Regions from separate parts of the Homo sapiens genome. Here regions 1, 2, 3, 4, 6 and 7 are each linked to region 5. The links are contacts of gene promoters, found by promoter capture Hi-C in human tissues and cell types (Jung and others, 2019). All regions are on one chromosome and are shown on one strand. Each heading gives the region's core, a stretch centred on a gene start or on the middle of the fragment in contact. The rest is flanking DNA. Distances are from core to core; before and after follow the strand shown.

Evidence for each region. The method cuts DNA at HindIII sites, captures the fragments that hold promoters and counts their contacts. A contact is called where the count stands out against the background at its distance.
Region 1: a contact is called between a fragment that was not itself captured here and the fragment with the promoter of USP18 in region 5, in 1 of the 25 tissues and cell types used here (dorsolateral prefrontal cortex).
Region 2: a contact is called between a fragment that was not itself captured here and the fragment with the promoter of USP18 in region 5, in 1 of the 25 tissues and cell types used here (dorsolateral prefrontal cortex).
Region 3: a fragment that was not itself captured here is called in contact with the fragment with the promoter of USP18 in region 5 in 1 of the 25 tissues and cell types used here (lymphoblastoid cells).
Region 4: a fragment that was not itself captured here is called in contact with the fragment with the promoter of USP18 in region 5 in 1 of the 25 tissues and cell types used here (lymphoblastoid cells).
Region 6: a fragment that was not itself captured here is called in contact with the fragment with the promoter of USP18 in region 5 in 2 of the 25 tissues and cell types used here (lymphoblastoid cells and spleen).
Region 7: a fragment that was not itself captured here is called in contact with the fragment with the promoter of USP18 in region 5 in 2 of the 25 tissues and cell types used here (dorsolateral prefrontal cortex and lymphoblastoid cells).

Annotation. Positions count from the first base shown.
Region 1 is chr22:17,788,627-17,792,401 of GRCh38, reverse strand. It overlaps MICAL3 (microtubule associated monooxygenase, calponin and LIM domain containing 3), which reads left to right. Exons shown (of 32, transcript NM_015241.3): 30 at 1,101-1,200; 31 at 1,331-1,404; 32 at 1,486-3,775. The coding sequence ends at 1,670. Among named protein-coding and RNA genes, the nearest start is that of LINC00528, 13 kb to the right of the region's middle. RefSeq lists a silencer at 3,669-3,775. The HindIII fragment of the contact is 5,973 bases long and covers 1-3,775 here.
Region 2 is chr22:17,643,134-17,647,350 of GRCh38, reverse strand. All of the region lies in intron 1 of BCL2L13 (BCL2 like 13), which reads right to left. Among named protein-coding and RNA genes, the nearest start is that of BCL2L13, 6.5 kb to the right of the region's middle. The HindIII fragment of the contact is 4,256 bases long and covers 1-3,395 here.
Region 3 is chr22:17,680,097-17,683,789 of GRCh38, reverse strand. It overlaps BCL2L13 (BCL2 like 13), which reads right to left. Exons shown (of 7, transcript NM_015367.4): 3 at 469-576. Among named protein-coding and RNA genes, the nearest start is that of BCL2L13, 43 kb to the right of the region's middle. The HindIII fragment of the contact is 4,441 bases long and covers 1-3,693 here.
Region 4 is chr22:17,725,872-17,729,762 of GRCh38, reverse strand. BCL2L13 (BCL2 like 13) reads right to left here. Exons shown (of 7, transcript NM_015367.4): 7 at 1-3,086. The coding sequence ends at 2,229. Among named protein-coding and RNA genes, the nearest start is that of MIR3198-1, 36 kb to the left of the region's middle. The HindIII fragment of the contact is 3,423 bases long and covers 417-3,839 here.
Region 5 is chr22:18,148,486-18,152,634 of GRCh38, reverse strand. USP18 (ubiquitin specific peptidase 18) reads right to left here and starts at 2,465. Exons shown (of 11, transcript NM_017414.4): 1 at 2,413-2,465. LOC124905076 (a long non-coding RNA gene) reads left to right here and starts at 3,421. Exons shown (of 2, transcript XR_007067999.1): 1 at 3,421-3,535. RefSeq lists enhancers at 1-45, 2,405-2,724. The HindIII fragment of the contact is 12,042 bases long and covers 1,192-4,149 here.
Region 6 is chr22:17,805,854-17,809,849 of GRCh38, reverse strand. MICAL3 (microtubule associated monooxygenase, calponin and LIM domain containing 3) reads left to right here. Exons shown (of 32, transcript NM_015241.3): 29 at 913-1,006. Among named protein-coding and RNA genes, the nearest start is that of LINC00528, 31 kb to the right of the region's middle. RefSeq lists an enhancer at 381-1,177. The HindIII fragment of the contact is 6,514 bases long and covers 1-3,996 here.
Region 7 is chr22:17,708,715-17,712,568 of GRCh38, reverse strand. All of the region lies in intron 6 of BCL2L13 (BCL2 like 13), which reads right to left. Among named protein-coding and RNA genes, the nearest start is that of MIR3198-1, 54 kb to the left of the region's middle. The HindIII fragment of the contact is 6,813 bases long and covers 1-3,854 here.

The DNA of each region.
Region 1 (3,775 bases), core at 209-2,708, 360 kb after region 5:
CCTGAGGCCCATGGATGGACCCCAGGAAGCCCAGGAGCAGCTTGGAACTCTGCATCAAATGGTTTGCTCTGCACACATAAGCATTTTTCTAGGAAGAGAGTCCCTAGCTTTTATGAGATTCTCAAAGTGGTTTGTAATCCAAAAATATTGAAGAGCCACTGACACAGCATGTATTTTAGGCAGGACCACACTTTTGCCATGAACTTCTGTGCTCCAAGGAAAAGGACCTTGTTCTCTCGTTGGGTGGCTTGGTCCCTTGGAGACTTCTTCCTTCTGTCCTCCTGCCACAGTGAAGCCCAGTGGTCAGGCCGTCCCTGGGGGAGGTTTGGTATCGGCACCTGTTGGTTCAGGCAGCCTGAGCTAGCAGGCAGCCACCAGACACAGGCATTCTGTTGGATTGGACCAGGGCAGGGCGTGGCCACCTCCTTCCATCCCCAGGGGCTGCTAGTGTTTCTCTGCTCTTGGTGAGAAACCCTGCGGCCATCCTGAGATGCCCTGCATCGACCATGCGGGATCCAGCGGGAGAGCATCCGGAAGCTTGATAGGCCACAAGTTAAGGGGTGGTATCTTCTCTTCCTGGTCAGGAGGTAAACAAATGGACAAGGCATCTATTCTGGTGGCCCCTGGAGAGGGGCAGTAGCCCAAGAAAGAGCTGAGTTAAATGAGCATGACCTGAGGGCAGGGTGCAGTTTACAAATTCACATTTGTCTCGTTTAACAAGACGGGTTTCCTCCAAGGAGACCTAGTACATAGCAAGTGCCAAATAAACATTGAGTGGCAAAAAAGAGGGAAAGCAATGTAAGTCATCCTAAGAGAGCACACAGAGCAGGAGGGGTAGAAACCAGCCCCGGGGAGGGCAAGGTCCCTGCTGGCGAGGTCGCTGACGGGGTGAACAGGGATGGCAGGACACGGGAAAGCGCAGGCCCCAGGAAGGGGGACGCCAGGGCCCCATGGCTGCAGGCAAACCTTGGGCCTGGCTTGGGAGTGGAAGTTCCGGCAGCATCTTGCTCGGCCCTCTTTGCACATTTGCCCCGTGTGATTCCTGCGGGCCAGGGTGGGCGCGGCACTCCCTGCACCCGACACAAGCGTTCTCTCGGCAGGCATGGGCAAGAAGGACGACCCCAAGCTGATGCAGGAGTGGTTCAAGCTAGTGCAGGAGAAGAACGCCATGGTGCGCTACGAGTCGGAGCTGATGATCTTGTGAGTGGCCTTGGGTAGGGGGCGTCAGCGCTATGCTTGTCACAGCCGGCATGGAGGTCCTTCCAGATTTGGGGGTGAGGGGTGGTCCCCAGTCACTGTGGCTTGTCTCCCTCCTGCCCTGCCTCCTCAGTGCCCGGGAGCTGGAGCTGGAAGACCGGCAGAGTCGACTGCAGCAGGAGCTCCGGGAACGCATGGCAGTGGAAGGTGAGTGGGGTAAGGCACCCATGGAGGCCAGGGTGGGTGCCACCTCCAGGCCCCTCACCTCATGCCTTCTTCTCCTTCAAGATCACCTTAAGACTGAGGAGGAGCTGTCAGAAGAGAAGCAGATTCTCAATGAGATGCTGGAGGTGGTGGAGCAGAGAGACTCACTGGTGGCGCTGCTGGAGGAGCAGCGGCTCCGGGAGAGAGAGGAGGACAAGGACCTGGAGGCTGCCATGCTGTCCAAGGGCTTCAGCCTTAACTGGTCCTGAGCTCCCACCCAACGCTCCATTTTCTGTTGGCATCCGCCTGGCCAGGCAGTGGCATCCAAACCACCCGGAGCCGCGATCTGAGGAGGCCTGGCACCTCCTTGGAGTTTACGCTCAGATGCCCGTGTGCTGCTTGGAAAGTGGTCGAGTCCCGCGTGCAGTGGGGAGCCCCAGGTGACAGTGGTTATCTGAGACGGCTCCACCTCCTGGGAGGAGGCCCACCTGGACCTCCCACTCAGAGGAGCAGCACGGCGTGTATGGCATGACGCAGGGGACCACCCCGCGCGCTCCCTGAGGATGTGCTGGCTGTGCCCCTTTTTTCCACTGGCACATTTGGTAAGAGAGGGAAGCTGCTCCCCGTCAGAACCACAGTGCGCCGTGCGAGGGGCACTGTCTTCTTCATGCTCCCTGGAGCACCACCAAAGAAACGTAAACAATACCCCACGAAAGCAGGGTCAGGGGTCAGGGTGCGATCGAGACCCAGGATGGGGGCGTCCAGTCATGCCCACCCCAGCATCACAGGAGACATGGAGGTGCGGGCAGGCTCCTGAATTATTATGCAAATTAGGAGGACGCAGGAGGGGTCTGCCCTCCAGCCGAACACCACACACTGGACCCTAAGTGGCCAAATGCCTGGGCCGCTTGCTGGCTGTGGCCTGAGGCTTGTGGGTTGCTGCATTTTGCTTGTAGTTCACAACCATTTTGACACTGGAAAATGCTGACTTTGGGGGACAGGATGAGGCCCTACATTCTAAGCCCCCAGTTGGCAGACAGGCATTGTCCCTGTTCCACATTTATGTCGGGACAGGAGATGACCTTTTCCTCCGTGTTTTTCCTGTGTTTGCACGTTGAAATGAAGCTGACAACCTGGCAAGACGCTCAGCCGCTTCAAACCCTTTTTGTCAATTAACTTATTTTTTAATACTTGAAAAGAAGTAACTTCGTTTGTGTATCTTTACTAGAGGAACTGATCACCTGCGCCCGGGTGCGGGAGCCACAGCGGCATCTGGTGCGTCCTACGCGACCTGGTCCGGGGCTGCCCGGTGCTCCTCACGTGCATCTATTTATTAGCCTTTCTCTTCGTATCACTGGCCTGGCTGGCATCAGGGAGCTGCCCAGAACCCCTGTGTGGGTCCTCCTCACAGCTTTCTGTCCCCTCCTCCACCCGGTGCCTGCCTCACCCTGGCGCTAGACCATCTGGACCACTCATGTGATGAGGGTGCATTTCCGTTCTGTTTTGGGCCAGGCCAACAGCAGAGCTGCCACTCTCACCCTCCCAGTGAGAATTCCGGCTCTGCAGAACTCGCCCTTGTCTCAGTTTGGGGGCCAGGGCATCACCTTCCTCCGCACATATGTTAAAGAAGGTTTCAGGATGGGCCCTCATCCACACAGGCCAAGAGGGTGCAAGGTGGGACCCTGGAATCATGTGGCTGGTGAGAATTCCCTCCTCCCAGCCTAAGATTCACCCAGACGGAAACGCGAGTGCTGCAGTGGATGCTGGGATGCAGGCTGGTGCCTCTCAAGCAGATCAGCGACTCCCGCCCTTCCTTCCGAAGGCGACGGGCACCTGCCTTGTGCCGGATCTTCATGGGGACATAAAGGGCGAGCCCCGAATCACTAGCTCCTATAGCCAAACTGTTCCTTTCTCACGGTTCCGCACCAGCCTGGCTGTGTACAGCTCATCAAGCCACTGAGCTAATCGGGGTGGGGTGCTTGTCCATCAAAGCAGTCAGCACATAGCCCAGCGAGGAGCCATCCGGACCAGACCCGCCTGCCAGGGGCGCTCCAGCCGCCTGCCGCCTCCGTGGGCTGGGGCCAGCTGGGAGCAGAGGCCTGGCCCCTCCAAGGCGTCCCGCAGTGGAGCAGGCTGAGTGGCTGTGCTGACCTTGGGCTTTCCATGGGAACCACACTGTGCTTCAACTTGAACATTCATCCCAGCTGCAAAGGAGCAAAGAACCTGTGTCATCCTTGTCTGTCCAGAAGCTGCCATCTCTCTCCCATGCACATCCGGGAGATAACGCCGCTAGTGGCCGCCACAGCGCTGATTCTCCACCTGTTCTCACGTGAGGCAAAGGTCTCCTTTTCTTTTCTCTTTACTTAAAAAAGGG
Region 2 (4,217 bases), core at 18-2,517, 500 kb after region 5:
GGATCACGAGGTCAGGAGTTCGAGACCAGTCTGGCCAACACAGTGAAACCCCGTCTCCACTAAAAATACAAAAATTAGGCCAGGTGCAGTGGCTCATGCCTGTAACCCCAGAACTTTGGGAGGCCAAGGCGAGCGGATCACAAGGTCAGGAGATCGAAACCAGCCTGGCTAACACGGTGAAACCCCGTCTCTACTAGAAATACAAAAAAATTAGCCAGGCGTGGTGGCAGGTGCCTGTAGTCCCAGCTACTTGGGAGGCTGAGACAGGAGAATGGTGTGAACCCGGGAGGCGGAGCTTGCAGTTAGCCAAGATTGTGCCACTGCATTCCAGCCTGGGTGACAGAGCAAGACTCCATCCCAAAAAGAAAAAGAAAAAAAAAAAAAAAAAAAAAAAATATATATATATATATATATATATGTAGTTTATACACACACACACACACACACACACACACACACACAAATTAGCTGGGCGTGGTGGCAGGCACCTGTAATCCCATCTACTCTGGAGGCTGAGGCAGGAGAATCACTTGAACCTGGGAGGCAGAGGCTGCAGTGAGCTGAGATTGCACAACTGCACTCCAGCCTAGGCGACAGAGCTAGACTCTATCTCAAAAAAAAAAAAAAAAAAAAAGACAGATATTTCAAGATTCTTTTCAAATGATGAGAGGGACATATAGTTACCTTTACTCATTGAATTTTATCTAATAGGACCTCTTAAAATTCAAGTTAGTACAAGTGTTCTTGGTATCCAGAAGTGAGTAAATACATAGATGATCTTAACTATAAAAATTGCTATCTTGGCCAGGCGCAGTGGCTCATGCCTGTAATCCCAGCACTTTGGGAGGGTGCGGTGGGCGGATCACCTGAGGTCAGGAGTTTGAGACCAGCTTGACCAATATGATGAAACACCGTCACTACTAAAAATACAAAAATTAGCCTGGCGTGGTGGCATGCACACCTGTAATCCCAGCTACTCAGGAGGCTGAGACAGGTGAATCGCCTGAACCCAGGAGGTGGAGGTTGCAGTGAGCTGAGATCGTGCCATTGCACTCCAGCCTGGGCAACAAGAGCGAGAAACTCTGTCTCAAACAAACAAACAAAAAACCTGCTATAATTTGTACGATTCAAACTATTAAACATAATATGTAACCCACCTGTTTCTTTCTGTGCCTTAATCTTTTTACTTTGTTCCTCTATTAAGTTTCAAGTAGAATTGTCCCTTGGTACCCATGTGGGATTGGTTCCAGGATACCTGTGGATACCAAAATCCTCAGATGCTCAAGTTCCTTATACAAAATGGTGTGGTATTTGTATATAACCTACTCACTTCCTCCCTCTCATATACTTTTAAGTCATTTCTAGATTACTTATAATACCTAAGACAATGTAAATGCCATTAAATAGCTGTTATACTGTATTGGTATCATTTGTATTGTTTTTATTGTTATTTGTGTTTTTTTCCCTAAATATTCTCCAATCAAGACTGGTGGAATCTGCAGAGATATGGAAACTGGATAAAGAGGGCCAACTGTGGTTGCTAGCCAAACAGCCTAAGGAAACCTAGACTAACTTCATGCTGTGTTTATGTATTCATTTGGTGTCATCTCCAAAACCAGCCACAAATAAAACATCCATGAACCTTTAACAACAAATGTATATCCACAATTCTACAATATATGGTTCATTTTCTTTTCTAAACCAGATTTCTATTACAAGTACCAGTCCAAGTTCCAGAATGCTACCAGTGCTGATTATATTGTAGGAATTAGACACATTTTATGAAACATAATCAGAAGGTACACAGCAGCTATTAAATCCTACTATAAACCAGGCATGGTGGCTCACGCCTATACTTCCCAGCACTTTGGGAAGCCAAGGTGGGTGGATTACTTGAGGCCAGGAGTTAGAGACCAGCCTGGCCAACATGGTGAAACCCTGTCTCTACTAAAAATAAAAAAATTAGCCAGGCGTGATGGTGTGTGCCTGTAATCCCAGCTACTCAGGAGGCTGAGGCATGAGAATCGCTTGAACCGAGAAAGCAGAGGTTGCGGTGAGCCTAGATTGCACTCCAGCCTGTGTGACAGAGTGAGACTCTGCCTCCAAAAAAAAAAAAAAAAAAAAATCCTACTATTAGTTCTTATGTAAAGCAAATATGCAGCAACATGACAGTCTTTTGTATTTGTTTCCCAAACTTGTCCCATCAAATTACTTTGGATGCCTATTTAAAAAGAAATTCCTAGGCTGGGTGTGGTGACTCATGCCTGTAATCCCAGCACTTTGGGAAGCCGAGGTGGGTGGATCACGAGGTTAGGAGATCGAGACCATCCTGGCCAACATGGTGAAACCTCGTCTCTACTAAAAATACAAAAAATTAGCCAGGCATGGTGGCGTGTGCCTATAATCCCAGCTACTCAGGAGGCTGAGGTGGGAGAATCCCTTGAACCAGGGAGTCAGAGGTTGCAGTGAGCTGAGATTGTGCCACTGCACTCCAGCCTGATGACAGAGCAAGACTCCGTCTCAAAAAGAAAAAAAAAAAAAAAAGAAATTCCTAGCACTCACATTAGATATACTAATTTAGAGTATCACACTTATACTGTATTCTCTAACCTCACAGAACGAAAACCAAAACACCCTATAGTTTAACACATTTTAATAAATTATTTCAAAAACCTGTTTCTAAATTTCCTTCCACTAAAATATTATAAGATTATTAAATGCAGTCGGGCGTGGTGGCTCATACCTATAATCCCAGCACTTTGGAAGGCCAAGGCAGGCGGATCACGAGGTCAAGAGATTGAGACCATCCTGGCCAACGTGGTGAAACCCTGTCTCTACTAAAAATACAAAAATTAGCTGGGCGTGGTGGCACGCACTTGTAGTCCCAGTTACTTCAGGGGGCTGAGAGAGGAGAATGGCGTGAACCCAGGAGGCAAAGATTGCAGTGAGCCGAGATAGTGCCACTGCACTTCAGCCTTGTGACAGAGCAAGAATCTGTCTCAAAAAAAAAAAAAAAGAATTATTAAATGCTCCAGTAATACAGAGTTGAACACAACTATAATCCCAGTTTATAAAGAGAAAAATAAAAATTCACAGATAAATCCATCACAAATCAAAAAGCTGTAATTTTAAACATTAAAAGACCAGGCAAAGTTGCTCATGCCTGTAATCCTAGCACTTTGGGAGACCAGATGGGCAGATCACCTAAGGTCGGGAGTTCGAGACCAGCCTGGCCAACATGGTGAAATCCCATCTCTACCAAAAATACAAAAATTAGCTGGGTGTGGCGGTGTGCATCTGTATTCCCAGCTACTCAGGAGGCTGAGCCAGGAGAATCAGGCTTGAGCCCAGGAAGCGGAGTTTGCAGTGAGCCGAGATTGCACCACTGCACTCCAGCCTGGACAACAGAGTGAGATTCTGTCTCAAAATAAAAAAGTTGGCCGGGCGCCGTGGCTCACGCCTGTAATCCCAGCACTTTGGGAAGCCAAGGAGGGCGGATCACAAGATCAGGAGATCGAGACCATCCTGGCTAACACGGTGAAACCCCATCTCTACTAAAAATACAAAAAATTAGCCGGGCATGGTGGCGAGTGCCTGTAGTCCCAGCTACACACCTCCTGGCATGAACCCAGGAGGCGGGGCGTGCAGTGAGCCGAGATCGCACCACTGCACTCCAGTCTGGGCGACAGAGTGAGACTCCATCTCAAAAAATAAATAAATAAAATAAAAATAAAAAAGCAAACAACAACAACAAAACATTAAGTTTCTTGGCTATCAGCTCTTTAGTCTCATGACTCACTGGTGGCTTGAACAGGGAATTTTTTTTAAGTTCCACAAGTTAACATGGAGTCCAAAGCTATTTTCTAATCCATGCTTTGCCAGCTCCTATTGAATTGTAAGACTTTCTCTGAAAGAGAGTAAAATAATTCTAATAAAAATTATGAAATGGCCGGGCGCGGTGGCTCACACCTGTAATCCCAGCACTTTGGGAGGCTAAGGCGGGCGGATCACCTGAGGTCGGGAGTGAAGACCTCACAAGAGTGAAACTGCATCTCAAAAAAAAAAATTATCAAATGGTAAAAAATTCACCCCACCCATCTGAAAAATGCAACTGGACAAGTATCATTTTTAAAACTCAGCAGACACTAAAACTCTAGTGTAGACACTACCCCCTTTCCAATTAAAACAGGCCTAATTGTTCAATCTTGTGTTAGAGC
Region 3 (3,693 bases), core at 611-3,110, 470 kb after region 5:
AGTAACTATTTTTAAAGTTTATGTTGTAATGTTAAGTGCAAAATAAAATGGCTATAAAGTTGAATGTACATTATAATTACAGTTATCTATAGTATATATGTATGCAAAAATAAAAGCGTATGCTTACTTTTTCCTTTTTATGTCGTTATTACTTATAAAGGTAATACTAAATACAAATCAAACCATAGTGAATGGAAAGAACCTTAACATGATCATTTATCCGATACTTAACATGAGAAACTGCTACATCTAACCTGTTAGGTATAGTTGGGGAACTTCCATCAACATATCCTCCAGGAAAGAAAAAAGGCTACCTTCTAGTTTTACCCTTATAAACTTCTACCAATGTATAATTGGTGTAAGTTGTTAACTGTTGAGAATACCCCACTGTAAAAATCAAATTAAACCAACAGTAAACCATAACAAACACAATCTGCTTATTAACTAGAAAAATAAGAATAAACAGACCTTCAGAAATTTCTTTGTCCAGAGATTTTAGCTCTTCTTCAATTTCAGTTTTAACTTTTAATAAAATTTCTTGATCCAGAGATTGTGAAGCTATATCTAGTTGAACCCCTGAAAGCAACAAAAAAGGTTATTATTGAAAGAGGGAGAGAGAAACCATTAGAATATAATAGCACTTTTTTTTTTTTTTTTGAGACGGAGTCTCGCACTGTCACTGGGGCTGGAGTGCAATGGCATGATCTCCGCTCACTGCAACCTCTGCCTCCTAGGTTCAAGCGATTCTCCTGCCTCAGCCTCCCAAGTAACTGGGATTATAGGCGCCTGCCACCACGCCTGGCTAATTTTTTTGTATTTTTAGTAGAGACAGGTTTCACTATGTTGGCCAGGCTGGTCTCGAACTCCTGACCTTGTGATCCGCCTGCCTCGGCCTCCCAAAGTGCTGGGATTTCAGGCGTAAGCCACTGCACCCAGCCCTACAATAGCAATTTGTTAAGCCAAAAAATGCAAAATCAAAATTCATTATCAAAATTAGGGACGGGAGGAAATCCTTTTTGCAATAATTAAAAAACAAAAATCAAAAACAACCTTTAGTAGAAATATTTGGGCCTATGGATTGAGAGTGAGTAAGTCTCCACCTTTCCAGATGTTTCTGCCAGAAACAGGGAAATTGAGCTGAATCTTCAGAAACACATTAACTCAAGAGGAGGTTGGGAAAGATGTATCAATAAGTCGGGCCAGTCCTCTCTTTTTGTAGACAATGTATCCTTTTTAAAAAGTATGAAGATGGAATATGATAAAAACAAAAAGAATTCATGCTATTAATATTTCAGTGGTGGTGGGAGATGTCCATTCCCCCCACTTCAAATTATATAGATCCCTAATTGTATCTCACTTTTGGACACATTTTTAGATGATATACTTCTAGCATTTTATACATGCTTTGTAATTTTCTTTCTTTTCTTCCCCCAACCCTGCCCACAACAGTTAGTTGACTGCTGCTTAAGTCCACAAAGCACACAACTGAGGCTAAAATTCCACCACTGTGGGCATAACGATTTCTTTGTACCAATCACATTAGATTTATGAGTTATGCTCATCACCAGTCTCTCATGCTTATTACTGGTTAATTCTATTTTGCTACTAAGTTTTCTAAATACAGCAAGATAATTATATATCTTTGCAAGTACTAAGGTACAAAAAAAGATACTGCTGAAGCCTGAAAGCAGTACCTCTGTCATTTGACAGTCCAATTTCACCCAAGTTAGTTTTAGTGATAACAATACACAATAATGGCTAATATCAAGTGCTGGGGGCACTATACTAAGCACTTTGTATGTACATGTACGTACGTATGTATGTATGTGTATATACACATATGCTCATAAAATGCTCATAACAACCCTTTGAGATAGGTATTACTATTATCCTCAGTTTGCAGGTGAAAAACCAAGACACAGGGAAGAAATGTGACCAAGGGTGCACCAACAGCAGAGCTCAGATACAAACCCAGGCAGTCAACTTTCAGGGTCTGGGCCCTAACCCCTGCACAATGTCGCCTCTCGCCATTCTTGCAAGCATGGACTATATTAAATCAAACACCCCAAAGTCCAAGCCTGCCTCTATGACAGTGATCACAGCACAGCAGTTCTTGTTCTTGGGCTTTTTGAGATTTCAGGCTCTTAAGAGAATGTCAATAAAATAATGGCCCCTCCTCCCACAATGTTTGGCAAGCAATTTTAGGGCATTCATGGACCCTCTCAGGACCTCTATAAGCCTTGGTTTAAACTCTTTACTAATTACCATCTAATTTTCCTTTTTTTTTTTTTCAGACGGAGTCTCGCTCTGTCCCCCAGGCTGGAGTACAGTGGCGCAAGCTCTGCTCACTGTAAGCTCCGCCTCCCAGGTTCACGCCATTCTCCTGCTCCCAAGTAGCTGGGACTACAGGCGCCCGCCACCACACCCGCCTAATTTTTTGTATTTTTAGTAGAGACAGGGTTTCAGCGTGTTAGCCAGGATGGTCTCGATCTCCTGGCCCCGTGATCCACCTGCCTCGGCCTCCCAAAGTGCTGGGATTACAGGTGTGAGCCACTGCGCCCAGCCCATCTAATTCTCCTTCTTTCCCCGTCCCTGAATTCACATACTCACACCCACTGCATAATATAGTCCTCTTTCATTTGGCTAATGTACTACAGTTTTGTACTATTGGGTAACCTGACTTAATGAGCAGGGCCAATGATCACCAACCACTAAAAGGCTCCAGGAGACAGATCAAGACGAGTAATCGCGGGGCATGGAGGTGCGACAGAGTAGGAAATGGGACTTGGCCCCACCCCACTAATGTGTTTTTCCATACGTTCTCAGTGACCGCCACACCCTACAGCGCCATCCCAACTGGCACCATACCTGCTGACCAGACCTCGCAGGTATGGTATGAAGAAACTATAGGCAGCAGCCTGCCATAAATCTTACTCAAGGGAGTGAGCTCTACCACTCACACGAGCTCAAGGACAATGACCAATCCTAATCACCAGCCTCATTATAATACTAAAATCACCACCCAGAAAGACGCTTATCTGCCACTTTCTGATCATGTGTTAGCACGATTCCTTACCGTGTCTGCACTCCACCCCACACACGTAGTGATGCTCACTTACCTCGTGAATCATGCATGCCACCCTCCTTAAGACACCGCAATGCACTCCCCTCGGAGAGCCAGCTGGAGAACCCTTCCTCCTGTGCTGTCTCCCTTATGTCCAACCTTTCTAGGTATGAGTCTTTTTTTCTTTTTTTTTTTTTTTTTTTTTTTTTTTTTTGAGACAGAGTCTCGCTCTCTCCCAGGCTGGAGTGCAGTGCAGTGGCTTGATCTCGGCTCACTGCAAGCTCCACCTCCCAGGTTCATGCCATTCTCCTGCCTCAACCTCCCGAGTAGCTGGGACTAAGGCGCCCGACACCATTCCCCGCTAATTTTTTGTATTTTTAGTAGAGATGGGGTTTCACCGTGTTAGCCAGGATGGTCTTGATCTCCTGACCTCGTGATGCGCCCACCTCGGCCTCCCAAAGTGTTGGGATTACAGGCGTGAGCCACCGTGCCCAGCTTTTTTTTTTTTTTGAGAGAGAGTTACGCCCTTGCTGCCCAGGCTGGAGTGCAATAGCACAATCTCGGCTGACTGCAACCTCCGCCCCCCGGGGTTCAAGCAATTCTCCTGCCTCACCCTCCCGAGTAGCTGG
Region 4 (3,891 bases), core at 879-3,378, 420 kb after region 5:
GAAATACAACTGGCCAAATCACTGTGGAGGAATGTCTAACAGGTGGGAAAATAAAGCAGCAAGTAGCCGCTTCCATACCACATTTCTTCCTTATTCTTTCCTTTCGTGGGCAACACAGGCTCCAATTTCCTAAGCCTCACACCTCCTTTCAGCAGCTCAGAGATGAACCTGGCTTCGATTGGTGCTTGAATGCGCTCAGCCAATGGGTGTGAGGATCCAGAACTGGCAAGTGTTAATACTGGAACTCATAGGATTTATTACTTTTTAAAAATCAAGATAACGCACCAGTTTGCTCTTCACCTATGCAAACACAAATATAGCAATTAGAATACAGAACAATCAATGCAACTATCAGAGCCCATGAAGAAAAAAATCATTGCCTCAATAATCCCATTCCCCCCACTCACCTCTAATTACTTAATCCAAGTACACAAAAACCCTTAAAACATCACTCCCTAAATGGGACACTAAAACACAGAACAAAGACACGCTACAGGATAAAGCTGGAAAGACACACAAACATACTCCCAGACCTTGTTTTGACCAATTTTTAAATATTGCTTTAGGGAGATTTTATTTGAAAACATAAATTTCAAAAAGAAAGCACATTTAAAACATCAGGTTTTGGTGATCAGGGTAGGTAAAGTATTTTTATTATAAATTTCAAGATCTAAAAAATAATTTATTACATTTACTAAGATAAATCTAAGATGACCTTTTTAAACCAAGCCACGTGTGCCCTGCATAGTGACGTCGTGGCCCTCGGGCATGGAAAGACACGGGTCTGCCCTTCCTTTAGGGCTGGAAAGACACGGGTCTACCCTTCCTTTAGGGCTGGAAAGACACGGGTCTACCCTTCCTTTAGGGCTGGGATCAGCCAGAGGAAAGAAAATTATGCCGATGCTCAACTAGCATATACTGATTAGGACTATTTTGGTTTATTACCCTGGCATTGAAGAATTCAGGTGAAGATGCCACCACTCTTGAACTCTGAAAGCCAAACTAGAATCTGCAGAGCAGCCTCAGTCTTAAAATTCAAGCTTCTTTTTCCTACTTTTTATTTCAGTGATATTTAGGACACTCTCTATTTCATAAGAATTATGATCTAACTGGCTCTATAAGCCCAAGAATAAAAATCCTTACCCCCTAGCAAGAGACCCATAGAACTCATCAGTAGTAAGACTAAGGTCCCATATTGGAAAAAATATACTAGCCCAAGGTTATAGACAGGGACCATCCAGCAATAGAGATGTTGCTGGCAAGTAACCATGGTGGTGGGTGACCACTAGCGAAAAGGGCTGAAGAGACCTCAGAAGGTCATCCAGGTTATCCTCCTGCCTTGACACAAGACACATGTGTCTCTCTAGCCAGAGTTACTTGCAGTTGCACTCACAAGTGGGGACCCCAGGTCTCCTTCATGTGATTTTCTCTGTGTACATATTTCGAAGATTCCCAAAGGCAGCATTTTTACAAGGTGGAGCTGCAGGAAGCTTCGGGGACTTGACAGACTGAGTCCAGAGCAAGCCCTCGCCCGTGGGATCTTAGCAGGAACCTGGGGGTGAAGAGGAACAGTGCAGTCCCTGAGAGGCAGCTGAGAGTACGGGCGAGCACCCTCACACTCCAGGATGAGGGCGGGGGGCAAAAAAAGAGTGGGTGCAGAGCCTGCTCATCGAGAAAGATGAAATTCTAAGGGGATTAAGAGCTAAGAAGTCAGTAGCTGAGGAGCCCACAGCTAAGTTCTCTCAGCTGGGAATTTCTATCCCAATTCTTCCTAAGTAAACCCTCTCTCGCTAAAGCAGTGGGTCTCAATAGGGGATGTTCACACGGGACATTTGGCAATGTCTAGAGACATTTTCGTTTGTCATCTCTGGGAGGGGGTGCCACTGGCATCTAGTGGGTGGAGCCCACCACACACAGGACAGCCCCAACACAGAGAATGGTCAGAACAGCACTAGTGCCAAGGCTGAGAAACCCGGTCCTGGAGGGGGTGCTTTACCCCTAAGATTCTCAATTTAGCATGAGCGGAGGCCCTTGGGATTTACAGTCAGATGAATGTGAATGCCCCACCTCAAGCCCTAACATGCCTAACATGCCACTGCCATGTTGAGCAGAAGTCCCCAATTATCCCAGAGTGTTCCACAAATGTCCAGACAGCTGCTGGAGGTTCAAATTCCAGCCAATACAACTCCAACCTTACATCCTTCTGTCTTTCTCTTCTGAAAAGCCTCCTATTTCTTTCTCAGAGCCAGGGCTACCCCGATGGCCACTGCCAGGATGGCAACAGCAGCAGCCCCTCCAAACAGCAGTATAGACTTGCCCTCAGACAGCGGCATGGGCTTCATCTCACCGGCGGGGGACAGTCTAGACTTGCCCTCAGACGGCGGCACGGGCTTCTTCTCGCTGGCAGGGGACAGCTCTTCCACAAGGCTCTCTTCCCTTGCGTTTATCTCCTTCTCACTCAGCAGCGTTTCTGTGGGTTCCAGTGCGGGGACCACCTCCTCCACTTCAGTAGGTTCAGTTGTTGCTGCTTTCACCTCTTCTTCATCAAGTTCTACAAACAGAGATGTAGCAGGGCTGGATTTCTCAACTGTGATCACTTCTGTGTCAGGTTCCCTTGTCCCCAGCAGGGAGGTGGCAGTGATATGTGGAAGCAAGGGAGCTGGGGCTTCAGGAAGTGCCTCTTGCAGCTCCCGCGCTGGCAAGACCACAGAAGCCACAGCAGCCTCTTCCATGCCCTCGGGCACCTCTTCTTTCTCCACGTGCACAATGTCAGAATTAGAGGAGTTGTTCTCACTCTTCTCTCCAGCTCCGTTGCTGTCTAAGCTTTTCACTTCTTCAGGATCCATTGCAATCTGCTGCCAGGACTCAGGGCCTAGTGACACTGGCAGGCTTTCTGTGTGCCAACTCTGGCTAGCTGACAGTGACACAGGTAAGCTCTCAGACTGCCAGGAAGTGGTCACAGTTGGAGACTCTGGGGGACTGACTTGTCCAGAGTTGTCGCTGGGCAGGATGTAAATGTCATTGCTATCTTCTGCAGTGATTCCAGGGTATTCCTCCTCCTCTGACTCAAGACTAAACACAGTGCCCTAGAAACGAAGGACAAGCGTCAATAATAAAGAATGGTAACTATTTAAAACATAAACATCAATCTGGAAAGCAAATTCTTTCCTAAACTGAAGTTCTAGGAATGAAACACTGTTTAAACCTACATAGTTTCCGAATGGAATGCATGTATTTGTAGGCCAATGCAGAGAAAGAATTTTTGACAGTCTTCTGAGCAGTCTCCTTGAAACTAAAAAATCCTAAGTTAATATACATTCAGTGTAATTCACACACAGGCTGAGAGCATCCTAATCTGAAAACCTGAAATCTGAAATGATCCAAAATCTGAGGTTTTTTTTTTTTTTTTTTTAAGATGGAGTCTTGCTCTGTCTCCCAGGCTAGAGTGCAGTGGCACAATCTCAGCTCACTGCAACCTCCGCGTCCCAGGTTCAAGCGATTCTCCTGCTTCGGCCTTCCCAGTAGCTGCAATTATAGGCACCTGCCACCACGCCCAGTTAACTTTTGTATTGTTAGTAGAGATGGGGTTTCACCATGTTGGCCAGGCTGGTCTGGAACTCCTGACCTTCAGTGATCCACCCGCCTTGGCCTCCCAAAAGTGCTGGGATTACAGGCGTGAGCCACTGTGCCCGGCCCAAAATCCGAAACTTTTTGAGTGCTGAAATGACATCACAAGTGGAAAATTCCACACTTGACCTCATGTGGTGGGTTGCAGGCAAAACACAGTCAAAAATCTGCTTCATGCACACAAAATATTATATATATTTATGTTATAAATATTGTATATTTGTAAATTAATATATTAATATTATATAAAATTACCTTCACGCT
Region 5 (4,149 bases), core at 1,216-3,715:
CCTGGGCGGATTCCAAGGAAGGGGATTTTCAAACTCAACTGCTGACTCAAAAAAAGACCCCCAGGCCAGGCGCGGGGTCTTTGTTTGAGACTCTGTCTCAAACAAAACAAAACAAAAATCCCAAATACTAAACTAACTTAGCTCCCACCCTACCTGAATTTTTTTTTTTTTTTTTGGTTCACGTTCTCTCATGATCTTCCCGAAATGTTATCCTTAAGCTTCGGGGAGAGGTGAGCAACGGAAGGAACTGGCCCAGGCCCACCACTAAAGAAGCCCCAGGACCAATCGGGGTCCTCAGAGAAGCCCCAGAAGAGCCAGGAACAAGCTGCAGAAAACCTGGGGAGGGTGGGGCCTCCACCCAATACTCCACTCACAACTGGACTCTCTGCCAGGAAAGCCAACTCCAACATTTAGATGCCCTAAAAGGAACAAAATTAACCTGCCAGGAACATGATTCAAGCAGCCTCGGTGTCTTCCGACCCACCCCATCATGGCAACCACAATTGTAGACCGCAGTCTCGATGACGTGTTCACATTATTTTGCATTTCTTTTTTCTTTTTTTATTTTTATTTTTATTTTTGAGACGGAGTCTCCCTCTGTCGCCCAGGCTGGAGTGCAGTGGCCGGATCTTGGCTCACTGCAAGCTCCGCCTCCCAGGTTCACGCCATTCTCCTGCCTCAGCCTCCCGAGTAGTTGGGACTACAGGCGCCTGCCGCCACGCCCAGCTAATATTTTTTATTTTTAGTAGATGGGTTTGCACCGTGTTAGCTAGGATGGTCTTGATCTCCTGACCTCGTGATCCACCTGCCTCGGCCTCCCAAATTGCTGGGATTACAGGCGTGAGCCACCGCGCCCGGCCTATTTTGCATTTCTTGAGTAATCGTAATATGCGGGTTAGAACACACGGATTACAACACTTTGGATGAAAAACCACATAATAGGGAAATTTTGGGACTACTCTCTCTCAAAAAAAAAAACAGCTCGTGGAAAAACTAGGACTTACCTTCTTTGAAACTATGTTTATGTTAAGCATTTTCCCCTTTGTAAGCTCATCATTGTGTAAAAGTGTCAGAACTGTGCAACACATTTTTTAACAGTCCAAAAGCAAGTTCTTTGATAAATCAATATGAAGCCGTGCACCTGTGTTACTCTCCCTCCCGTTTTGTTCCTGCGAACACATCGGTAACCTGCATTCACTCTCCATCCAACTCTGTTCAATACCAGAAAGAAACTTCAGATGAAATGCTTTTCAGTATTTGCCTTGTTTTCTGGAACAACTTTAAAGTACAAATTATACCTAAATAAGTACAAATTAAAGCCTCTGCTTTAATTTTCAAACACTTTGAACCCAGATTTTCAGGGGTCTCAAAATGGAGTTTTGTGTTTAAAAGTCTAAATTTAGCTTTCTTCCAAGGAAAAGGGTGTGAAGAAGAGAGGTTAAGACTAAAATACTCTGATTTGCAGAGTTTGACAACATCCTTCCAATTTCTCAATATGAATGCCCACTGACCCAGCCATTCCACTTCTAGGAATTTTCCACCGATATATTTGTATGAATGTATACATAAAATTATATTCATTGCCGTATCTGTGCCAGTAAAAACTGGAAACAACCTAAATCTCCATGCATTGTTTAAACAATGTACTTCCCATACCATGTATCAGGTTTTTTTGTTTGTTTGTTTGAGACAGTTTCGCTCTGTCGCCCAGGCTGGAGTGCAACGGTGCGATCTCGGCTCACCGCAACCTCCGCTCCCGGGTTCAAGCGATTCTCCTGCCTCAGCCTCCCGAGTAGCTGGGATTACAGGCATGCGCCACCACGCCAGGCTAATTTTGTATTTTTAGTAGAGACGGGGTTTCTCCATGTCTGTAACTCCTGACCTCAGGTGATCCTCCCTCCTCGATCTCCCAAAGTGCTGGGATTACAGGCGTGAGCCACCGTACCCGGCCGAATCAGTTTTTTGTTTTATTTTTAATGCCATTAACACATCTATATGTCCTGCCATGAAAAGATGTCCATAATATACTCAGTGGACAAAGCAAGTTCGAAATGATTTTAAAGACTTGTACATAGAAACATTTCTGATAAGGTACAAACAAAAATGATACTGAGTGGAAGACTGCGAGACACATTTGTCTGCATTGTTTGAATTTTTTTACAAGCTTACAACACTTCTGCAATTTCTTTTTTTGTTTTAATTAAACACAAAGTCATGTCAAAAGTCCAAATAACTATATTAGCTTAGAAAAAAATTCACTGGCCCAAAATATATGCACGTAGTAAATACAGATCACTATCATAATTTGCAGAGCACAATTATTACTTAATTCCTTAATTATCTGACTGGCATAGGAGCAGAGTTGGATGTCTGTGCTAGAAAGAAAACTTCCAAAATGAGCCCCGAACTTGCCTCAAGCGCCATGCAAGCGTCCAGCCTCCGCTGCTGAGTTCCACGTCGGGACTGAGCCGGGGACCGAGCTGGGACCGAAGTTCCGCTCCGGGCCCGCCTTGGTCTGGCCCCGCGCTCGTGGCACCCCGCCCAGCTTTCGTTTTCCACTGAATGGAAAGCGAAACTTACAGCGGCCTCCGCGCCGGGAGCTGGGCGCCAGCGTGCGGGGAAACCCTGCCGGCCCGAGCTTCCCGCGGCTGCCGTTGCAGCCGCGCACCTGCTCCAGACTTCCAGCCCTCGCTTTTTTTTTTTTTTTTTTTTTTTGAGACGGAGTCTCATTCTGTCGTCCAGGCTGGAGTGCGGTTGCGCTGTCTCGGTTCACTGCAAACTCCGCCTCCTGGGTTCAAGCGATTCTCCTGCCTCAGGCTCCGGAGTAGCTGGGATTACAGGCATGCGCCACCACTCCTGGCTAATTTTTGTATTTTAGTAGCGATGGGGTTCCGCCATGCTGGCCAGGCTGGTCTCAGGTGATCCGCCCGCCTCCTAAAGTGCTGGGATTACAGGTGTGGGCCACCGCGCCCGACCTACAGGCGCCTTTTTATTTGCGATTTTAAGGTCCTTGCAATTAGCCTACGTGTTAGAGTCATTTGGCGTTTGGTAGTATCCATGGCAGCATTTTTTCTTTCTTAATGCTATTGTATTTCTTGGATCGGGTGTCTTCACATCACCGGCCTGTGGCTTGGATGCGGCACATGGTGTAATTAGGAGCTCCCCTGTGGGCATGCAGATACAGATATTTCTCCACTTAAGAAGGGGTCAGGGGGCGCGGTGGCTCACACCTGTAATCCCAGCACTTTGGGATGCTGAGGCAGGCGGATCACCTGAGGTCAGGAGTTCGAGACCAGCCTGACCAACATAGTGAAACCCCATCTCTACTAAAAGTACAAAAATTAGCTCGGCGTGGTGGCGCTTAATCCCAGCTACTTAAGAGGCTGAGGCAGGAGAATAACTTGAACCCAAGAAGCGGAGGTTGCAGTGAGCAGAGATCGACAAGAGCAAGACTCCGTCTAAAAAAAAAAAAAAAAAATGGGGTCAAGTCCCAGTGAACCCATCATGAAGTCGAAACATCGTAAGTGAAACCACGGTAAGTGATGGACCATCTGTGTATATATAAGGTTAAGAGATCTGTAACATGCACACCGGAAAGGCTTATTACCTCTTTAGAGATGTATTTCTTGTATGTAGACTCATGGGGGTAGGGGCAGAAGGGTTATCTGCTAGGGGCCTCAAACTCCAGCCGCTGGAATTTGCGCAGGAAAGCAGGGTACAATTCCCCCAAAGCGATCATTCTTTCTGAAAGCCGTCCCCGCAGCAACAGACAAATAGCCTCCAAAAACCCAAAGCTGCCAGAACCTCACTGAAGCGTTGGTAGGGTCTGCAGTAAGGTACAAAATACCATGGCATGAAGATGTATAAACGTGTCCATAATAGGGTGGATGTGTGTTAGAAGCATGAGCACAGATATACACATACAGGCTATCCACACGTCCATCGTCAGCCCAGACTCCGCTTACATTGCTGCTGGAACGGAGGCAGTGTCGCCCACAGTGCAGCATGTTCTCCCTGGAAGGCTGGTGGACTTTGCGCAGTATGGTGTTTACACAGGTACACGGTGGTGGGCGCAGGGTCCGTCCTCATTATATTTGCTGACCAATCAGTTATATAACCAGCTTCATACATCTGGTAAGTCTTGTCCAC
Region 6 (3,996 bases), core at 428-2,927, 340 kb after region 5:
TTGTTGTAGAATAATCATTGTAAGTCACCTCATTCAATTGTGAGGACTGTCACCAGGAGTCCATTTGTGGCCCCTCAGCCTCTGATAGGCCTGGGATTTTTGTGGGAAGAGGTCAGAGGTCAGAGCTCTCCTCCCATTCTCCAGCTTGTTTTCAGGCTGCACAGACCCTGAATCTAGACCACTGTAGATTTCTATTGTTTTGTTTTGTTTTGTTTTGTTTGAGACGGAGTCTCACTCCGTGGCCAGGCTGGACGCGCAGTGGCGCTGAGCTCACTGCAACCTCTGCCTCCCTGGTTCAAGCGATTCTCCTGCCTCAGCCTCCCGAGTAGCTGGGATTACAGGCCTGTGCCACCACATCCAGCTAATTTTTGTATTTTTAGTAGAGACAGGGTTTCACCATGCTAGCGAGGAGGGTCTTGATCTCTTGACCTTGTGATCCGCCCACCTCAGCCTCCCAAAGTGTTGGGATTACACGGATGAGCCACCGTGCCTGGCCTTCTGTTTTAAATTTTTATCGTAAAGATGGGATTTCCACTGCACTCTTCAGGAACCCCCTCCAGCACTCTAGCAGTCTTGCCGTGAGAACAGTCTGAGGTTCTGGTACTCAGGCCCCTCCTGCCACAGATTACATCCACTTCCTGTCTCTGCAACACTCCTGGGAGGGTGGTCACTACTTGAGTCACGTCCACGCGCTTTGATGCTAACTAGCAAGGCCCGGAGCCTGGCGTCTACACAAGCTAGGTGGTTCTGGTGCAGGTGGTCTCCACGCCACACCCTGAGCGCACCGCCCACAGACTAGAGCCCTTTCCAGAGCGGCAACTCCTGTGTTTCCCCTCGTGTGGGTGTGGAGTTGTGTGTCCTCCTGAAGCAGGGCTGGAGAGCCGGGTGCTCAGTCTGTGCTGTCTGTCATAGATCATCCAGCGGCAGCTGCAGCAGGTGGAGGAGAGGCAGCGGCGGCTGGAGGAAAGGGGCGTGGCTGTGGAGAAGGCGCTCCGGGGCGAAGCAGGTACTGCCGGGCTCCCTCCTAAGCTCTGCTCCTGGAGGAAGCCCTCCCTCCCGCCGTGGTAGGCTAGTTTTGCTTCACCTCACCTGGAATTCAGCTCCTTTTCCAGCAGGATTTTCTGGGGCCCTTCATCTCTGAGATTTGGGGCTTCCTGTTAAGCAAAAGAAAATACCTGTCTGAGACAGCCCCAGGCCCATCCTGCTCCACAGCCCCTCTGGGCTGCCATTTCCCATAGAGTGAAACTCAGTCCCCGGCATGCTGATGGCGAGCGCTGGCTCTTCCCCCTCCTTCCCACCCCACCATTTACTCTAGGAGGGAATAACTGGGAGTGAGGGAGATTGAACCGCAAGGAACCATCACAGAATTGCACTGAGCAGGTCCCCAGCCTGCACCCCCAGACCCCCTCATGTCGTTAGTTCCCTGGGACCCTCCTGCCCACAGAGCCCTCAACACCGCTGGTCGGGGAGCATGTGGCCACCCTCGGCACACACAGATTTCCAGAGGGCACCCAGGCCCTGTGTCTGCTGAAGGCTGGTCACTTAGGGCAGGGCTGGAGAGGCTCAGGGTATGTGACCAGCCGACGTGGAGCAGACTCCGGGGAGTGGCTGGCAGGGCCCTGTGCTCGTGACTGCTGCTCCTGGCAGGGAAGCCCTGGAGAATGTGGTGCGCTCATTCCTGCCATTCCATCCAGGGAACCTGCGCGGCTGCGCTCAGCATAGTTGGGCACAGAGAATGCAAGGGAGTGCCTGAGGCATCTCTGGCCCCACGGCCCAGGAAGTCCTATTGGTTCAGGACCTTGAAGCTGCAGGACCAGCCCCGGGGGTGCAGTGGCCACTCTGCCTTCTCAAACATCCACAAATCTTCGTCTAGTCTCTGGATGGGGGAACTTCCGTCTCTTTATAGCCTGCAGGTTCAGCGTTTAAATTGTGAGCTGGGGATGAAGAAAAGGAGTATCCTCTTACTTCCTCACTCTAGTGTGGCAGAGGGGAGCAGGGTGCCTCTGCTGACAGGCAGGCTCTCTGTGAAATGGACGAACTGGGAGGAGGCGGCCAGGAGCAGGGCCAGCTGCTGCCATCTGATCTTGCTCAAAGACTGACCCATGGGCTCATGGGAAGTGCCTGGTGTCAAGATGAATTCCTGTGGCCTGTAGGACTGAAGTTTGTGTGGTGGGGAGTGAGGGAGTCCAGAATGGAAGTAGGTCTCCTTTCCCAGGCCCTTTAAGGCCTGGAAATTGCAGCTTATAGGGCTACTCAGTGATGACCTTCAGTCAAAGAGATGGGATGGGGAGAAAGGTGAGGATGTGGATGTTCTTGGTTTGGGCTCACCTGATGCTGTTAATGCATGAAGTCCAGGCTACCAAAGGAAATGCAAAAACTTGAAGCACTTAGCATCCGATAGGCTGAGACGACTGGGATGTGTTACTGTGAGACAAGCACAGCAAGGAGATTTGGGTTCACCTAAGAAGGTCTGAGGTTTCCCAGCGAACCTGCGGTGCCCCTGCCCCCCTGCCCTGCTCTGCGCACTCTGATTTGGCCTCCTCAGTTAAGCCTGAGCCCAGATGGAGTTGGCCCCAGCCCACCTGTGCCCGACTGCGTCCGGGCCTATGGGGCCCTGCCCTCGTGCCATTTCTCTTCTTGCAGAAGATATCAGGAGAGAGCCTAGGCTCATCTTCATTCCTTCTTGCCCTTCTCCACAAATCACTTCTGCCAAGATGGAAAGCAGTGGATTAGATCTCAACACACAGACAGAATAACCGCATTTCATGGTTTAAGCCCTTCAGGAAGAAGACAGCTCCCTGCCCTCCTTACTCATGAGGTTGAGGTGGTGGTGCCATCAAGGTTGGTGGTTTCCGTAAAGCACTTGAGCGCCTGTGGCCTCCGTGAAGTCTGAGTGTAAAACAGTGCTTCGACGCCCCTGTCACGGGCCCTGTTATTCAAGCTTCTGCCAAAGGGCCGGAAAATAATATACCACTGAAGATTGGCGTTAGGGTTTTGCCAGAATTATTTCTTCTAGTCATTAGATAATCACATTTCCTCAAACATACACAACCCAAATGCCGTCTAAGTCAGTGGTTTTCAAAAAACTAGCAGCAGACCTCTTTTCACAAGATGATAAGTTCAAGTTTAAAATCAAAAAGAATTACTCTCAAATGTTAATAATTAACACAGATTTGAAAACACAGGTTATAGCAGAGAGTGGTGGACATGACCAAGCCCCGGCATCCAGCCAGTACACACAAGAACTGTAGTTGCTATAAGTGACAACATGGTTTTTTTTATTTGGTTGGTTTTTGGTTTTTTTAACAGCTTACTTGGAAATCTCAGGATTTCTGCAGTTTAAATGATGTAGACACTAGAAGTTTAAAATGAGGCAAGAGCTTTTTTTTTTTTTTTTCCACAGTTGGATCACAGCAAATCTAACAGCAGTTCCTATTCCTCATGACAAGCAAGTCTCAAACAAGAGGCTCCCAAACAAAGTAAACAAAAACCCAGCCATGCTGTAATACCGCAGCAAAACGTGTTACCCACCTACATAAAGGGACTCGCTGACAGGCGTGCGTGCTGTCAGTGAGCTGTAGCTCTCCCGGACAGACCCTGAACGGTGGCAGGTGAGCACTATGCTGCAGGCCAGAATTTAAATAAACAAATGAATAAAATGTCCTCTTCACTAACACATTTACAGGGAGTTCAGCCACTTACACACAGAGAGAGGCGGAAACTTGATCCTGAGGGCTCCACAAAATCAAGCTCACCTGGCAGCACAAATTATTGGGTTGATGGTCTCCAGTGGGTGAAAAGTTGGCATATAAAACATTTGGGCCGGGCGCGGTGGCTCACGCCTGTAATCCCAACACTTTGGGAGGCCGAGGTGGGCGGATCACCTGAGGCCGGGAGTTTGAGACCAGCCTGACCAACATGGAGAAACCCTGTCTCTACTAAAAATACAAAAAATTAGCCTGGCATGGTGGTACATGCCTGTAATCCCAGCTACTC
Region 7 (3,854 bases), core at 890-3,389, 440 kb after region 5:
TGTCTTCAAAAACCTCCATTTTGTGAAGATCAGAAAGAAAGGCTCAGGTACAGAGTAATTTTACAAGGAAGAAGAAAATGGTAGTATAAGGTAGCACAAAGTTCCCATTTGTCCCTTATTAACTGTAGTACACTTATGTTATTTATTTGCTCTTTCAAAATTTCCAAATGAGAAACTAATACTATGGCTTAGCAGCTTTGTAATCCTCCATCCTCAAATCTCTGTAATGTAATGTCACTAACAGGAAAGTGATGAGGCATTGTGGAGGATTAAACTTTTTTCATTATTGAAACTATCAACATTTTAAAACTAGGCTAAGTCTTTTTGTTAAATGAAGAACAAGTTGGGAAAGTTAATATACAATACTGAGTAAATCTGTCACAGTCTCACCATGAGAAGATCATCCAATTTTATCAAATAATTTGCATTTCAGAGTTACGAAAAATAGTCAAAGAACATCAGTTACTTCACTACAAGTGGCTTAAAACAGTGTACTCTTCCTAGTCTTTCACTTACATTAAAAATTTACACCAAAAAAAAAAAACCTTCAAAAAACGTTATTAAACTCCCACCTCCAAACTTGAGTTACCTGGAGACAAGGAACATAATTTCTTATGTTCTTTATTCTTAATCTTGGAGTCACCTCTGCTCTCACTTTCTATTCATACTATACAAGTTTTGTAATCTGTTTTCATGCCATGTCAAAAGATGTGCCTTACAATTACACAGTTCTTCAAACAGAAGGGTCATCCAGTGATCAGAGAGGTCTCAAGTGACAACTGATAGGAATTCTCAACAGGTTACTTACCTGCACTTCTAAAAACAGAGCCTCTAATAGCAGTAACTGATTAAATAAGCAAAAACAAAAACAAGAGTCATAACGAAAACACTAAGAATTTTAGTTCTCAGTAAACAGACCTTTAGGGCTCTAAGCCAAGTAAGTAAAATGGAAATTTCAAAAGTACCATCATGGCTGGGTGTGGTGGCTCACGCCTGTAACCTTAGCACTCTGGGAGGCAGAGGCAGGCAATCACTTGAGCCCAGGATTTTGTGACCAGCCTGGGCAGCATGGCAAAATTGCACCTCTACAAAAACATACAAAAATTAGTTGAGTGTGGTGGTGCATGCCTGTGGTCCCAGCTACTCAAGAGGCTGAGGTGGGAGGATCGTTTGAGCCCAGGAGGTAAAGGATGCAGTGAGCCGAGATTGTGCCACTGCGCTCCAGCCTGGCCAACAGAGTGAAACCCTGTCTCAAAAAAAAAAAGGCCCATCATGAAGAAATAAGGGAAAAGTCAACAAACTGAAAATTAAAAGTAAAATGTCTCTTCCTCTTATGATTATTTTTTAATGAGGGTCTCACTCTGTCACCCAGGGGCTACAGTGCAGTGGCATAATCGTAACTCACTACAGCCTGAAAATCCTGGGCTCAATAGATCCTCCCACCTCAGCCTCTTGAGTTGCTGGGATTACAGGCATGAGCCACCGCACCACCACGCCTGGCTTTTCCCCTTATTTTTAACAGCTCAAAGTTAACAAAAGATTGAAGAACGTTCTTTGTTCCACATCTAGAGGATCTTTTCATCTCATCTAAGACATTAGATCAAGTTTGTCTGATCACAACTTTGGCGTAATATATTGTTTAAAAGCCAATTCAGATTTATTTATTTATTTTTTTTTATTTTTATTTTTTTTGAGACGGAGTCTCGCTCTGTCGCCCAGCCTAGAGTGCAGTGGCTCGATCTTGACTCACTGCAAGCTCCGCCTCTTGGATTCATACCATTCTCCTGCCTCAGCCTCCCGAGTAGCTGGAACTATGGGTGCCCACCACCACGCCCGGCTAATTTTTTTGTATTTTTAGTAGAGACGGGGTTTCACCGTGTTAGCCAGGATGGTCTCGATCTCCTGACCTCGTGATCTGCCCACCTCGGCCTCCCAAAGTGCTGGGATTACAGGCATTTATTTATTTTTTATTTTTATTTACTTTTTTTTGAGACAGAGTCTTGCTCTGTCACCCAGGCTGGAGTGCAGTGGCGTGATCTCAGCTCACCGCAACCTCCGCCTCCCAAGTTCAAGCGATTCCCCTGCCTCAGCCTCCGGAGCAGCTAAGATTACAGGTGTGCGCCACCATGCCCGGAGAATTTTTTTTTTTAATTTTTAGTAGAGACAGGGATTCACCATGTTGCTGGTCTCAAAGTCCTGACCTCAAATGATCTGCCTGCCTCGGCCTCCCGAAGTGCTGGGATTACAGGTGTGAGCCACTGCACCCGGCCAATTCAGATTAAATAGCTTTATGTCTTGCTGTCATGGCCTCCCTACCTTACAATGTATTTCTGTATTTAGGACGTGACATTTTAATGAAGATTCACTGAACATTCTGTGCTGTTATGTAAGAAGTCTTACAAGAAAGAACAGATTACTAAGCTTTTACTCCTGGGGACCAATTCACATAAAACAAAAATATAAAAATAGCAGCCTCTTTTTTTTTTTTTTTTTTTTTTTTTAAGACAAGGTCTTACTGTTACCCAGGCTGGAGGTCAGTGGCGCAATCTTGGCTTACTGCAGCCTTGACCTCCCAGGCTCAAGTGATCCTCCTGCCTCAGCCTCCTGAGTAAATGGGACCACAGATTACTTCCAGTTAATTTTTATATTTTTTGTAGAGATGGGCTCTCACTCACCATGTTGCCCAGGCTGGTCTTGAGCTCCTGGACTTGGGCAATCTGCCTGCCTCGGCCTCCCAAAGTGCTGGGATTACAGGAGTGAGCCACTGCACCCGGTCAATGTTTTCTTTTGTTTTAATAGCACTCTGTTGCCTAGGCTGGAGTGCAGCAGCACAATCTCAGCTCCTGGGTTCTGCAACCTGGGTTCAAGAGATTCTCCTGCCTCAGCCACCTGAGTAGTTGGGATTACAGGAACCCACCACCATGCCTGGCTAATCTTTCTATTTTTTATTTCATTTATTTATTTATCTTTCCTGAGACAGAGTCTCTCTCTGTTCACCCAGGTTGGAGCGCAGAGGCACAATCCTGGTTCACTGCAACCTCCGCCTCCTGGGTTCAAGCAATTCTCCTGCCTCAGCCTCCCGAGTTGCTGGGACTACAGGCATGCACGACCATGCCTGGCTAATTTTTGTATTTTTCATAGAGATGGGGTTTCACCACGTTGGCCAGGCTGGTCTCGAACTCCGGACTTCAGGTGATCTGCCCACCTTGGCCTCCCAAAGTGTTGGGATTACAGGCGTGAGCCACCACGTCCAGCCTCAGTTTTATATTTTTGAGACAGGGTTTTGCCATGTCACCGGGCTGGAGCCTCTTTTTTTTGTTTTGTTTTGTTTTTGAGATGGAGTCTCACTCTGTCGCCCAGGCTGGAGTGCAGTGGCGCAGTCTTGGCTCACTGCAACCTCTGCCTCCTGGGTTCACGCCATTCTCCTGCCTCAGCCTCCCGAGTAGCTGGGACTACAGGTGCCTGCCACCACGCCCAGCTAATTTTTTGTATTTTTTAGTAGAGACGGGGTTTCACCGTGTTAGTCAGGATGGTCTCGATCTCCTGACCTTGTGAGTCACCCACCTCGGCCTCCCAAAGTGCTGGTATTACAGGCGTTAGCCACCATGCTCGGCCGAGCCTCTCTTAATAATTAATGTCATAATGAAGAGCAGGCTTTCACTAAAAGAAAAAGAGCTGTTTTGGATAATATATTACTTACAACTTATCATATTAGAAGAATAATATCTACAAGTAGCCTCGGAACCATTCTAACAATCTAAATAGTTTTTAATACAAAATATTTGTGTTGTTGAGAGTATCTGTCTCTTTGGCTTCACTGACATAAAATGCAAAGGAGTAATTTCGAGGGCTCA